Linked DNA regions of Homo sapiens: region 1 is linked to region 2. The links are contacts of gene promoters, found by promoter capture Hi-C in blood cells and fetal thymus (Javierre and others, 2016). All regions are on one chromosome and are shown on one strand. The core of a region is centred on a gene start or on the middle of the fragment in contact, and the rest is flanking DNA. Distances in the headings are between cores, read along the strand shown. Region 1 holds the start of CEACAM16 (CEA cell adhesion molecule 16, tectorial membrane component). Region 2 holds the start of APOC4 (apolipoprotein C4).

Region 1 (6,591 bases), core at 2,075-4,574, 240 kb before region 2:
TGAGACAAGAGGGCTGGGCGGGCAAGGGGTGACCCTGACCAAACAAGGTCATAGACCCGTGTCCCCAGATGGCTGTGCAGAGAAGATAAGACTCATCTGCTCCAATCTTATGAGGCAATGGCCCGGGGCCTCAGTTTACTTGTCTGCAAAATGGGTTTTCTTGGGGGTGGGCAGCGGGGAGATGGATAACAGGAAAAGCTGAAGCTGTCAAAAAGAATAATGGGCCAGGCACGGTGGCTCACACCTGTAATCCCAGCACTTTGAGAGGCCAAGGCAGGTGGATCACTTGAGGTTAGGAGTTTGAGACCAGCCTGGCCAACATGTCAAAACCCTGTCTGTACTAAAAATATTAAAATTAGCCAGGCATGGTGGCGCATGCTTGTAATCCCAGCTACTCGGGAGGCTGAGGTGAGAGAATCGCTTGAACTTGGGAGGTGGAGGTTGCAGTGAGCCAAGATCGCACCACTGCACTCCAGCCTGGATGACAGATCAAGACTCCATTTAAAAAAGAAGAAGAAGAAGAAGAAGAAGAAGAATGATATCAGCAGAATACATCTACAAGCTGACCACTTCTCCCATCCCTGGTTCAGCCGCCACTACCTCCTGCCTGGTCCAGCACTACCCAACAGGAGCAAGAGTGGAGCCGCAAACACAATTCAACCTTTTCCAGCCTCATCTCATGAAGAAAGGTGAAACGAATGTATTTAACACAACATATGCAAAATGTCATTTCAGCACAGAATCAATATAAAAAACTGATTATCTGTTTTACATTATTGTGTATGCATGCGCTCTTTTTTTTTTTTTTTTTTCTTAATGAGACAACAAGGTCTTGCTCTGTCGCCCAGGCTGGAGTGCAGTGGTGAGATCACAGCTCACTGCAGACTCAACCTCCTGGGCTCAGGCGATCCTCCTACCTCAGCCTGCCAAATAGCTGGGACTACAGGCGTGCAACACCACTCCTGGCTCATTTTTAAATTTTTTTGTAGAGACGTGCTCTACGCTGCCCAGGCTGGTCTCGAACTCCTGGGCTCAAGCCATCCTCCCGCCTCAGCCTCCCAAAATGCTGGGATTACAGGTGTGAGCCACCGCGCCCGGCCCCCCTTATTGAACCTCTACTCCAATGTCGCTCTGACAATGTCGCCTTGCTGCCCTGCATAAACCAGTGCCCCGACCACCTCCATCCCTTCCCCTGCTTTATTTTTCTCCACAGCATTGTCCCCACCTGTTCTAACACTGCTCATGTTTGTATTCGTCTATTAACTGTCTCCCCAATCAATAGGTCAGCTCTGTGTCTACCGTATTCACGGCTGTAACCCCACAGCGCCTAGCGCAGTGCCCGGCACATAGTTGGTGCTCCATAAACATTTGTCAAATGGTGGAGGAACAACGACCACTGTGCCCCCAGTACGTGCTCTGAGGCAGGCCCGGCACGGAACACTCCATGTGCCTATTTTGATCCTCAGAAGAGTCCCAGGGAAGTCAATGTCATGAACACCCCCCACCCACTGCACAAACAGGAAAAAGCCCCTGCCCACAAGAACCCCGTCTGCTTTCTGCGCAGCCCGGCGGCGCACAGCAGGTGCTAAAGAGCCTGCAGCTCTTGACTGAACCAAGGATCTGGGCTCACAGCCGGGAGCACCAGAGGAGGGGCCAGGGAGGTGGAGGATGGGGGCAGACTAGGAAGGGTGGATGTGACGATAGAGGGCCTCTAGAGCCCGGCCTGGTCACACTCCGCAGGCAGACAGCAGATCACCAGGAACCTGAGCCTCTCTGAAGACTCCTCTCTCTGTGTCATCCACACCTGGTGTCCAGTTCCACAAACATGCTGTGAGCCTCTGCTCTGTGCCAGGTGATTTGCTGGGCAGTGCTGGGGACACAGTGGTGACAGCCCAGCCGTGCCCAGCTGAGGCTCCCAGGCCAGTGGGGGAAAAAGACCCAGCCCCAGACAGCGAGAACCCAAGGCAGTCAGGGCTGAGACAGGGAATTCCAGGCCCTGAAGTCCAGGAGGGCTTCCTGGAGGAGAGGGTTTGGGGAAGGCAGTGGAATAGAGCAGAGGGAAGCAGGGATATTCTGGGTAGAGTGCAAGTGAAACAGAAGAACTGAAGCAGAGGGTTCCCGGAAGCAAGTGGTATTCTATGTAGCTGGTCAGGTGGGCAGGAGTCAGGCCGGGCAGGGCCTCCTGGGCTACAGTGAGGAACCTGGGCTTCCTCCCAAGGGCACTGGGGAGCCACAGCAGGTTCTGAGCACGGAGGGGCAGAGGCAGGTTTTTGTTTTGGAAAGAGCCTCTGTCTGCCATGTGGAGGGGCAATGGGAGTCGGGGAGACCAGGGCCAGAGACTAGGGAGGAGGCTGGTGGGGAGACAGGAGGACCCAGGCAAGGTGGGGTGGTGGAGTGGTCACCTAGACCAGGGCAGGGGCTTCAGGGAGGGAGAGAAGATATACGTAGAGTCAGTTGCCAGAAGGGGTGGCGTGTTCGGGGAGTAGGGGGAGGCATCAGGGATGAGGCCCCAGGTCTCTTTTCCCAGCGATGAGGTGGGTAGTGGCGCCTTCCCTGATAAGGGCACCAGGGGAAGATACACTTCTGGGGGAAGATGCCAAGGTCAGTTTGGGACAAGGTGAGTGAGAGGTGCCCAGGGACATCAGGGAGGCATCCTGATTGATACTGGGATGAGGTCCCAGTGCTCTGGGCCAGGACGCAGAAGAGTGAGGTGAGGTCACAGGTGGGGAGAGGGGAGCAGGAGGCGCCAGGACATCCTCTGTGCCTCTCACCTGGCCTCACCCGCACCTCCTCAGGGCCTTCTCCCCCTTGTTAGAGCCCTGCCCCACGAGGGCAGCCCAGGACACAGTGCTGGAGGCAAACCAGGACAGGTGAGCACAGGTGTGGCCCCCTGCCCGGAAGCAGGCTGCAGAGGCCTCAGAGGAACCAGGACTCAGAAGCCATCAGGATGCAGGTCATAAGAACACAGCTATCAGCAGCTCTGGCACCACAACCCCCTCGGCTCCTGCCCAGCATCATCTCAGAGACACCTTCCCTGTTACCCTCCCTCCACCCCAATTTAAAGTAGCAAACCAGGCCAGGGGCAGTGGCTCATGGCTGTAATCCCAGCACTTTGGGAGGCCAAGGTGGGAAGATCACTTGAGGCCAAGAGTTTGAGACCAGGCAGAGCAACATAGCGAGATCCCATCTCTACAAAAAATAAAATGGCAAATCCCCTTTCTGACTTTATTTTTCAATCTGACGTGGAAGATATTTACCTTTCCTTTATTTACTCCGCAAATGTCGGCCCCCTGAGGGCAGGGATTTCATCCGTCTTGTGCACGGCTGCATCCTCAGCGCCTAGAACAGCACCTGGCAAACAATAGGTGCTCATTCAGTATTTGTCCAATAAGTGAATGAGTGATTTACTGAGCATTTACTCTGCGCCAGTCGTGGTAAGTACTGTACTTCACATGTGTATCTACTTAATCCTTTCAACAGCCCTGTGATGTGAGTACTATTGTTTTCCCTATTTTACAAATAAGGAAACTGAGGCTTGGCAGAGTCCATAAATTGCCCAGGGTCCTGGAGGTAGGAAACAGTGGAACTATGTCCAGAGCCTATACTTTTTTTTTTTTGAGATGGAGTTTCACTCTTTTGCCCAGGGTTCAAGCAATTCTCCTGCTTCAGCCTCCCAAGTAGCTGGGATTACAGGTGCCCGCGACCACACCCAGCTAATTTTTGTATTTTTAGTAGAGACAGGGTTTCACCATGCTGGCCAGGCTGGTCTTGAACTCCTGACCTCAGTTGATCCACCCACCTCGGCCTCCCAAAGTGCTAGGACTACAGGCATGAGCCACTGCGTCCGGCCATGAGCCACCACGCCCGGCCAGAGCCTATACTTTTAATAACAGGCATACCAATCAGACCCACGTCCACCAGGCTCTGGCTTAAATCCCTGACTTGTAGCCTCTCACTAACTGCTGTCAACAAACCTGAAGTAGGGTCCATATCATCTCTATTTTTTTGTTTGTTTTTGAAATGGAGTCTTGCTCTGTCACCCAGGCTGGAGTGCAGTGGCAGGATCTCGGCTCACTGCAACCTCTACCTCCTGGATTCAAGCGATTCTCCTACCTCAGCCTCCCTAGTAGCTGGGATTACAGGCATGTGCCACCATGACCGGCTAACTTTTATTTTTTGTTTTTGCTTTTGTTTTTTGAGATAGAGTCTCACTCTGTCACCCAGGCTGGAGTGCAGTGGTGTGATCTCAGCTCGCTGCAACCTCCACCTCCTGGGTTCAAGAGATTCTCCTGCCTCAGCCTCTCGAGTAGCTGGGACTACAGGTGCACACCACCACACCCAGCTAATTTTTTATATTTTTAGTACATACGAGGTTTCACCATATTGGCCAGGCTGGTCTCGAACTCCTGACCTCGTGAGCCACCTGCCTTGGCCTCCCAAAGTGTTGGGATTACAGGCGTTAGCCACCACACCCAGCTAACTTATATTTTTAATAGAGACGGGGTTTCGCCATGTTGGTCAGGCTGGTTGCAAACTCCTCACCTCAGGTGATCTGCCCATCTCAGCCTCCCAAAGTGCTGGGACTACAGGCACCTGCCACCACGCCTGGCTATTTTTATTATTATTATTTTTAGTAGAGATGGGGTTTCGCCATGTTGGCCAGGCTGATCTCGAACTCCTGACCTCAAATGATCCGCCTGCCTTGGCCTCCCGAAGTGCTGGGATGACAGGCATGAGCCAGTGCACCCGGCCATCATCTCTATTTATCAGAATAATAAATGGAGACTCAACAAGGGACTGTCCCCAGCCCCACTTTGGGTAAGTGCAGAGCTGGTGTCAAAACTCAGCTCTCCTTGGCCCCAAAGCCTCCGAATACGCCCATTTGACAGAGAGGGGAAAACAAGGCCTCCGAAGTGGGAGAAAGAGAATGTGAACTTCTGAGCACTTTGCAGGAAGCCAACAAGAAGGAGAGCCCCAAAGAAAGCATGTGGCCATACAGTTTCCTGCCCTTCTGTCTGGGTTTGCACACAGAGCAGGGCTCAAATCCCCTCTCCCTGCAGGAACCCGGACAAGTGGGAGTCCCCACCTAGCTCATCTCCATCTGCAAAGGGGGGTCCTAAAGGTGCCCACTTTACAGGGTTGTTTTGCCATCCGCTGAGACAACACCTGTAGGTCCCCTGCACTGGGTGGGGCTGGGAAAGGTGCAGTCACCTTTTACTGATTTTCTTCCTTGGTGACTCCCAGGCTCTCTGAGGAGGCCACGGGCCTGGGTGGTTGGTAAGAACTACCCGAAAACCTTCCCCTACTTTTCCTCTCTTCTCCTCGGTGACCTGGTTCCTCTCCCAGTACCAAATCCAGGCCCTCGGCACAAAGAGGGTTAGGCGGCTGCCCCAGGAGGCCTGCCCAGGTCACGGCCTCTGGCCGGTGCCCGCCACACCCACCCTGGTACCCAAACCGGGCCCCAGATCCTTGGTGACTCGATCCCTCCAAATTCAGGTGATCTCCCCTGGCTCCAAATCACCAAACCCTCCCAGGTCCTGCGGCAGACGGAGCCGAGCCCCAACCAGGAAGGGAGTCCGAGCACTGGGACTTCAACGCCACCATCTCCAAGACTCGGTTTGGGGTGAAAGATGGCGCTGACTGGGTACAGCTGGCTGCTCCTCAGTGGTGAGCGAGAATGGCACCCCCCAGCACCTCAGCCCCCCGAGGACCCCAGGGAGGGGAGGGGACCCCCAGTCTGAGAGAGGGAAGGTGTGAGCAGAAGTCCAGCGTGCTAGGGAGGGAGGGCAGCCCTGCTTCACACCGGCAGTTTACCCCTCCAAGAGGCATCTGCATTGGGCAGGCTGGGGACAGCCACCCAGAGAGGTTTTCAGGGTGGGCTTTGGAGATTTCTAAGCCCAGGGCACAAGCCAGGACAAGGGAGCCGCTGTTGCTCCTTCATTCCTGCAGGTTTCTGTTTTATCAGCTATGGAAGCCTTGATGAGGCTAAACTCTTCCCAGCAGCTGTTTCTCCCGGAAGATGTAGCTTAGGGCAGTTGCCTTTCCCTTCTCAGCCTCTGTGTACCCACCTGTGAATGGGGCCTCACTGACAGGGTCATGTAAAGGTCATTATAAGCAGCACCACATATGCCGTGTGCCCGGAGCTGTTCTGAGAGCTTCTCATGGTTTAAAACCACCTATGAGGGGCCGGGCAAGGTGGCTCACACCACTAATCCCAGCACTTTGGGAGGCCGAGGCGGGCGGATCACCTGAGGTCAGGAGTTCAAGACCAGCCTGGTTAACATAGTAAAACCCCATCTCTACTAAAATACAAAAAATTAGCTAGGTGTGGTGGCACATGCCTGTAGTCCCAGCTGCTCGGGAGGCTGAGGCAGGAGAATCACTTGAATCCAGGAGGTGGAGGTCACAGTGTGCCGAGACTGCACCACTGCACTCCAGCCTGGGCAACAAAGCAAGACTCCATCTCAAAAAAAAAAAACAACCCCAAACCACCTATGAGGGAGGCCCACACATGAACCGCACTTCATAGGGAGAAAACGAGGCTCAGAAAGGTGAAACCATTGGCCGCTGTCACACGGCCAGAGAGTGGCA
Region 2 (5,925 bases), core at 3,105-5,604:
TGTTTTTGTTTTTTATTTTGGGCTTTTGTTTGTTGTGGAGACAGCGTCACCCAGGCTGTAATGCAATGGTACAATCATAGCTCACTGTAGCCCTGAACTCCTAGACTCAAACAATCCTCCCACCTCGGCCTCCTGAGTAGCTGGGACTACAGGGGCATGCCACCACGCCTAGCTAAATTTTTTTTTTTTATTTTTAGTAGAGATGAGGTCTCCCTATGTTGCCCAGATTAGTGTCTTAACTCCTGGGCTCAGGTGATCCTGCCACCAGGGATTACAGGCACGAGCCACCATGCTGGCCCTTGTTTTTTGTTGTTTTTTTTTTTTTTTTTTGAGACGGAGTCTCGCTTTGTCGCCCAGGCTGGAGTGCAGTGGCGGGATCTCGGCTCACTGCAAGCTCCGCCTCCCGGGTTCACGCCATTCTCCTGCCTCAGCCTCCCAAGTAGCTGGGACTACAGGCGCCCGCCACTATGACCGGCTAATTTTTTTGTATTTTTAGTAGAGACGGGGTTTCACCGTTTTAGCCGGGATGGTCTCGATCTCCTGACCTCGTGATCCGCCCGCCTCGGCCTCCCAAAGTGCTGGGATTACAGGCGTGAGCCACCGCGCCCGGCCTGTTTTTTTTTTTTTTTTTGAGACTGAGTCTCGCACTGTCGCCCAGGCTGGAGTGCAGTGGCGCGATCTCGGCTCACTGCAACCTCCACCTTCCAGGTTCAAGCAATTCTCCTGCCTCAGCCTCCTGAGTAGCTGAGATTACAGGTGCCCACCACGATGCCCAGCTAACTTTTTTTTTTTTTTTGGTATTTTTAGTAGAGACGGGGGTTTCACCATGTTGGTCAGGCTGGTCTCGAACTCCTGACCTCGTGATCCGCCCGCCTTGGCCTCCCAAAGTGATGGGATTACAGGCGTGAGCCACCGTGCCCAGCTTTTTTTTTTTTTTTTTAAGAGACGGGGTCTTACTATGTTGCCCAGGCTGGACTCTCAAACTCCTGGGCTCAAGGAATCCTTCTACCACAGCTTTCTGAGTAGCTGGGGCTACAAGCCCCTGCCACAGTACCTGGCTGTTTTTGTTTTTTTATAATTGTGGTAAAATATAAACAACATGGCCGGGTGTGGTGGCTCACGCCTGTAATCTCAACACTCTGGGAGGTTGAGGTGGGAGGATTACTTGAACCCAGGAGTTCAAGACCAGTCTGGGCAACTTGGCAAAACTGTGTTTCTACAAAAAATAAAAATATTAGCTGGGCAGCCAGGCGCAGTGGCTCATGCCTGCAATCCCAGCACTTTGGGAGGCTGAGGTGGATGGATCACCTGAGAGGTCAGGAGTTTGAGACCACCCTGGCCAACATGGTGAAAACCTGTCTCTTTAAAAATACAAAAAAATGAGCCAGCCATGGTGGCTCACGCCTGTAATCCCAGCACTTTGAGAGGCCAAGGCAGGTGGATCACCTGAGGTCAGGAGTTCAAGACCAACCTGGCCAACATTGTGAAACCCCGTCTCTACTAAAAATACAAAAAATTAGCTGGGCATGGTGGCAGGCGCTTATAATTCCAGCTACTAAGGAGGCTGAGGCCGGAGAATCGCTTGAACCCGGGAGGCGGAGGTTGCAGTGAGTCAAGATCGCACCATTGCACTCCAGCCTGGGCAACAAGAGCGAAACTATGTCTCAAATACATACATACATACAAAAAATTAGCCGGGTGTGGTTGCCGCACACCTGTAATCCCAGCTACGCGGGAGGCTGAAGCAGGAGAATCGCTGGAACCCGGGAGGCAGAGGTTGCAGTGAGCCAAGATCACACCATTGCACTCTATCCTGGGTGACGGAGTGAGACTCTGCCTCAAAAAAAAAAAAAAAAAAAAAAAAACTTAACCATTGCAGCCATTTTTAGGTGTACAGTTCAGTGGCATTAAGTACATTCACACTGTTGTGCAACCATCCCCACTATTTGCAGGATGTCTTCGTCATCCCAAACAGAAACTCTGGGTGTTTTCAATCTGCTGATGATTGCTACAGAGGAATTCCAGGGGACATCTGTTGCGCACCTACTGTGCTCACGCTGGGGCCTCTGGGATGGACAGGATTCTGCCAAGGCAGACATCTGGGTCAAGACAGTCCTGCACAGTTGTTCAGGTTGTGGCCAAGGTTGCGTTTGCAGATTTGCCATGTAAAAATACAGGATGCTCAGTTACATTTGAATTTCAGATTAATAGCAAAAAAAACTTTTTGGTATAATTCTGAAATATTTCATGGGACATATTTATACTAAAACGTCATGCACTGTTGATTTGAAATTCAAATGTAATTGGGCCTCCTCTATTTCGTCTGGCAAGCGTAGACAAAAGAATCCAGTCCAGGCCAGGCGCAGTGGCTCAAGCCTGTAATCCCAGCACTTTGGGAGGCCGAGGCGGGCGGATCACGAGGTCAGGAGATCGAGACCATCCTGGCTAACACGGTGAAACCCCGTCTCTACTAAAAATACAAAAAATTAGCTGGGCGTGGTGGCGGGTGCCTGTAGTCCCAGCTACTCGGGAGGCTGAGGCAGGAGAATGGCGTGAACCTGGGAGGCGGAGCTTGCAGTGAGCCGAGATCGCGCCACAGCACTCCAGCCTGGGCGACAGAGCCAGACTCTGTCTCAAAAAAAAAAAAAAGAATCCAGTCCATAGTCCCCTGAGCCATGTGCCCTGGGGTGCAGCTGGGTCCTTCAGGAGAAAAATGCTCTATTTCTGGCACTGGGACCGAGCCTGATGTGGGTTTTTTGTTGGTTTTTGTTGTTGTTATTGTTTTTGAGACAAGGTCTCGCTCCACCACACCCGGCTAATTTTTGTATTTTTAGTAGAGACGGGGTTTCACTACGTTGGCCAGGCTGGTCTTGAACTCCTGACCTCAAGTGAGCCGCCTGCCTCGGCCTCCCAAAGTGCTGGGATTACAGGTGGGAGCCACCGCCCTGGCCCTGGGCCTGATGTTGATGACCTCCTACTATGTGCACCTGCAGCTCTCCTGCATAGGCCTCAGCCGTCCTGCATGAGGACACTGGGAGGCAGGTGCTCCCTATCAACCCCGTGTTACAGTTGAACAAACTGAGCCCCAGAAAAGAAAACGTATTTGCCCAGGTCACACGGTGAAGAAGTGAGGGATTCGAAGCCCAGGTCCATCTGAAGCCAGAGTCACCCAGAGGAGAAAGAGTTGGAATTGAGAACTCAAGGAATGCTTGGAAGTGATCGGGCTCGAGCCCACCTAGGAAGAAACAGAGGCTGGAGACATGAGACTGTGTTGCTATTTCCTCTCATCAACCCTTGGGCCCTATTGAGGCCCTACCACAAGCCTGGCCCTGCAGCCCAGTGACTAGGAGAAATTAGACACAAGATAATAATAACAGCAATGATCTTTTTTTTTTTTCTGAGACGGAGTCTTGCTCTTTCGCCCAGGCTGGACTGCAGTGGCGCGATCTCGGCTCAATGCAAGCTCCACCTCCCAGGTTCACGCCATTCTCCTGCCTCAGCCTCCCGAGTAGCTAGGACTACAGGCGCCTGCCACCACGCCTGGCTAATTTTTCATATTTTTAGTAGAGATGGGGTTTCACCGTGTTAGCCAAGATGGTCTCAATCTCCTGACCTCGTGATCCGCCTGCCTCGGCCTCCCAAAGTGTTGGGGTTACAGGCATGAGCCACCGCGCCTGGCCAACAGCAATGATCTTTGAGCACCTATATTGCCAGTCTCCACGGTAAGAGCTTTCTTCATTTTTTGTTTTGTTTTGTTTCAAGACAGAGTCTTGCTCTGTCACCCAGGCTGGAGTGCAGTGGTGTGATCGCGGCTCACTGCAGCCTTCACTTCCCGGGTTCAAGCCATTCTCCTGCCTCAGCCTCCCAAGTAGCTGGGATTACAGGCACGCATCACTACTTCTGGCTAATTTTTGTATTTTTAGTAGGGACAGGGTTTTTCACCATGTTGGCCAGGTTGGTCTCAAACTCCTGGCCTCATATGATCTGCCCACCTCGGCCTCCCAAAGTGCTGGGATTACAGGCGTGAGCCACTGCGCCTTTCTTTGTATTTGTTCAAGTAATATACTGAAATATGTACTGTGCCTCCCACTTTATGGAGGAGGAAACTGAGGCCAGCAAATGAGGCTGTCATGGGAGGTGGAGACAGGATTTGAACCTGCCTCAGTGCAGGAGGCTCAAGAGCCTCTGTCTTCTCTCAGGGCACTGTGTGGGAGGGTGAGAAGGAGGGAGGCCCACAGAGGCATGACCTCTGATTGCCACTGTCACCTGGGCCCTGCTCTCTGAAGTCTCTGCCAAGCGGGGAGGTGGCCGGGGGAGGGCCCTGCTCTGTGCAGCCTCCCCTCCCCCGGCCCGCAGAGTTGAGCACAGAGGGACAGAGGCACGGAACCCCCAGAAATGTCCCTCCTCAGAAACAGGCTCCAGGCCCTGCCTGCCCTGTGCCTCTGCGTGCTGGTCCTGGCCTGCATTGGGGGTGAGAAGAAGTGGGTGGAGGGATGTGGGGCCCACACCTGGTGGGTGTGAGTGTGGCTGTGTGTCCTGTGGCTCTGTAGCCACGTGAGACATGAGTACGGAGTGTGTGCGTTTCATGGCGTGCGTATGCATGTGCGTGTCGGGGAGTGTGTGTGTCGGTGGCTGAGAGTGAAGTGTGAATGTCACATTGGTACAAACTGGGATCATCTGTGTGTGTGCACGTGCGTGCGTGGAAGTGGGAGTATGCAGTCGTGGTAAAAAAGTGCATGTCTGTGTGCATATGTGTATTTGTGTGCACCTGTCTCTCTGTGGGGTATGTGTGTGCAAAATATTTGAGTGTGTGGACATGTGTGAGGGGGTGAGTGTGTGCTGGTGTGTACGTCTGTGTTTTGCATATGCATTTTTTTTTTTTTTTTTGAGACGGAGTCTCACTCTGTCACCCAGGCTGGAGTGCAGTGGTAGCAGTGGTGCGATCTTGGCTCACTGCATCATCCGCCTACCCGTTTCAAGGGATTCTCCTGCCTCAGTCTTCAGAGTATTTGGGACTACAGACACACGCCACCATGCCTGGCTAATTTTTTTTTTTTGAGACGGAGTCTCGCTCTGTTACCCAGGCTGGAGTGCAGTGGCGTGATCTTGGCTCACTGCAACGTCCGCCTCCCGGGTTCACGCCATTCTCCTGCCTCAGCCTCCCGAGTAGCTGGGACTACAGGAGCCCACCACCACGCCTGGCTAATTTTTTGTATTTTTACTAGAGACGGGGTTTCGCCGTGTTAGCCAGGATGGTCTCCATATCCTGACCTCGTGATCCGCCTGCCTCGGCCTTCCAAAGTGCTAGGATTATAGGCGTGAGCCACTGCGCCTGGCCAATGCCTGGCTAATTTTTTTATATTTTTGGTAGAGACAGGGTTTTGCCATGTTGCCCAGGCTGGTCTTGAAATCCTGACCTCAGGTGATCCGCCCGCCTTGGCCTCCCAAAGTGCTGGGATTACAGGCATGAGCCACCACGCCCGGCCATGTACTTTATGTTAAAATGGGATCATATTCTAGATCAGCATTATCCAGTAGAAATTTAAATTTTTAATACAGGGCCAGGCACGGTGGCTCATGCCTGTAATCCCAGCACTTTCGGAGGCCGAGGCGGGTGGATCGCAAGGTCAGGAGATTTGAGATCATCCTGGCTAACAGATGGGTAAAAACCCATCTCTACTAAAAATACAAAAAATTAGCCATGCATGGTGGCATGCGCCTGTAGTCCCAGCTACTCGGGAGGCTGAGGCCGGAGAATCACTTGAACCCGGGAGGCAGAGGTTGCAGTGAGCCGAGATCGCGCCACTGCATTCCAACCTGGGTGACAGAGCGAGACTCCGTCTGAAAAAAAAAAAAAATTTAACACGTATGTAGACAATGTGCAAGGCACCATTCCATGTGCATCGTATGTAGTAACTCTTAATT

Evidence for each region. Contacts are between HindIII fragments. The CHiCAGO score rates a contact against its expected background, and 5 or more counts as called.
Region 1: the fragment with the promoter of CEACAM16 here is called in contact with the fragment with the promoter of APOC4 in region 2 in 1 of 17 cell types (naive B cells); the score reaches 5.3 in naive B cells.

The regions. Positions count from the first base shown.
Region 1 is chr19:44,695,827-44,702,417 of GRCh38, forward strand. It overlaps CEACAM16 (CEA cell adhesion molecule 16, tectorial membrane component), which reads left to right and starts at 3,325. Exons shown (of 7, transcript NM_001039213.4): 1 at 3,325-3,434; 2 at 5,535-5,667. The coding sequence starts at 5,631. It overlaps CEACAM16-AS1 (CEACAM16, CEACAM19 and PVR antisense RNA 1), which reads right to left. Exons shown (of 2, transcript NR_186815.1): 2 at 3,212-3,351. RefSeq lists an enhancer at 892-1,497. The HindIII fragment of the contact is 17,086 bases long and covers 1-6,591 here.
Region 2 is chr19:44,937,883-44,943,807 of GRCh38, forward strand. It overlaps APOC4 (apolipoprotein C4), which reads left to right and starts at 4,355. Exons shown (of 3, transcript NM_001646.3): 1 at 4,355-4,471. The coding sequence starts at 4,396. It overlaps APOC4-APOC2 (APOC4-APOC2 readthrough (NMD candidate)), which reads left to right and starts at 4,356. Exons shown (of 6, transcript NR_037932.1): 1 at 4,356-4,471. The HindIII fragment of the contact is 22,942 bases long and covers 1-5,925 here.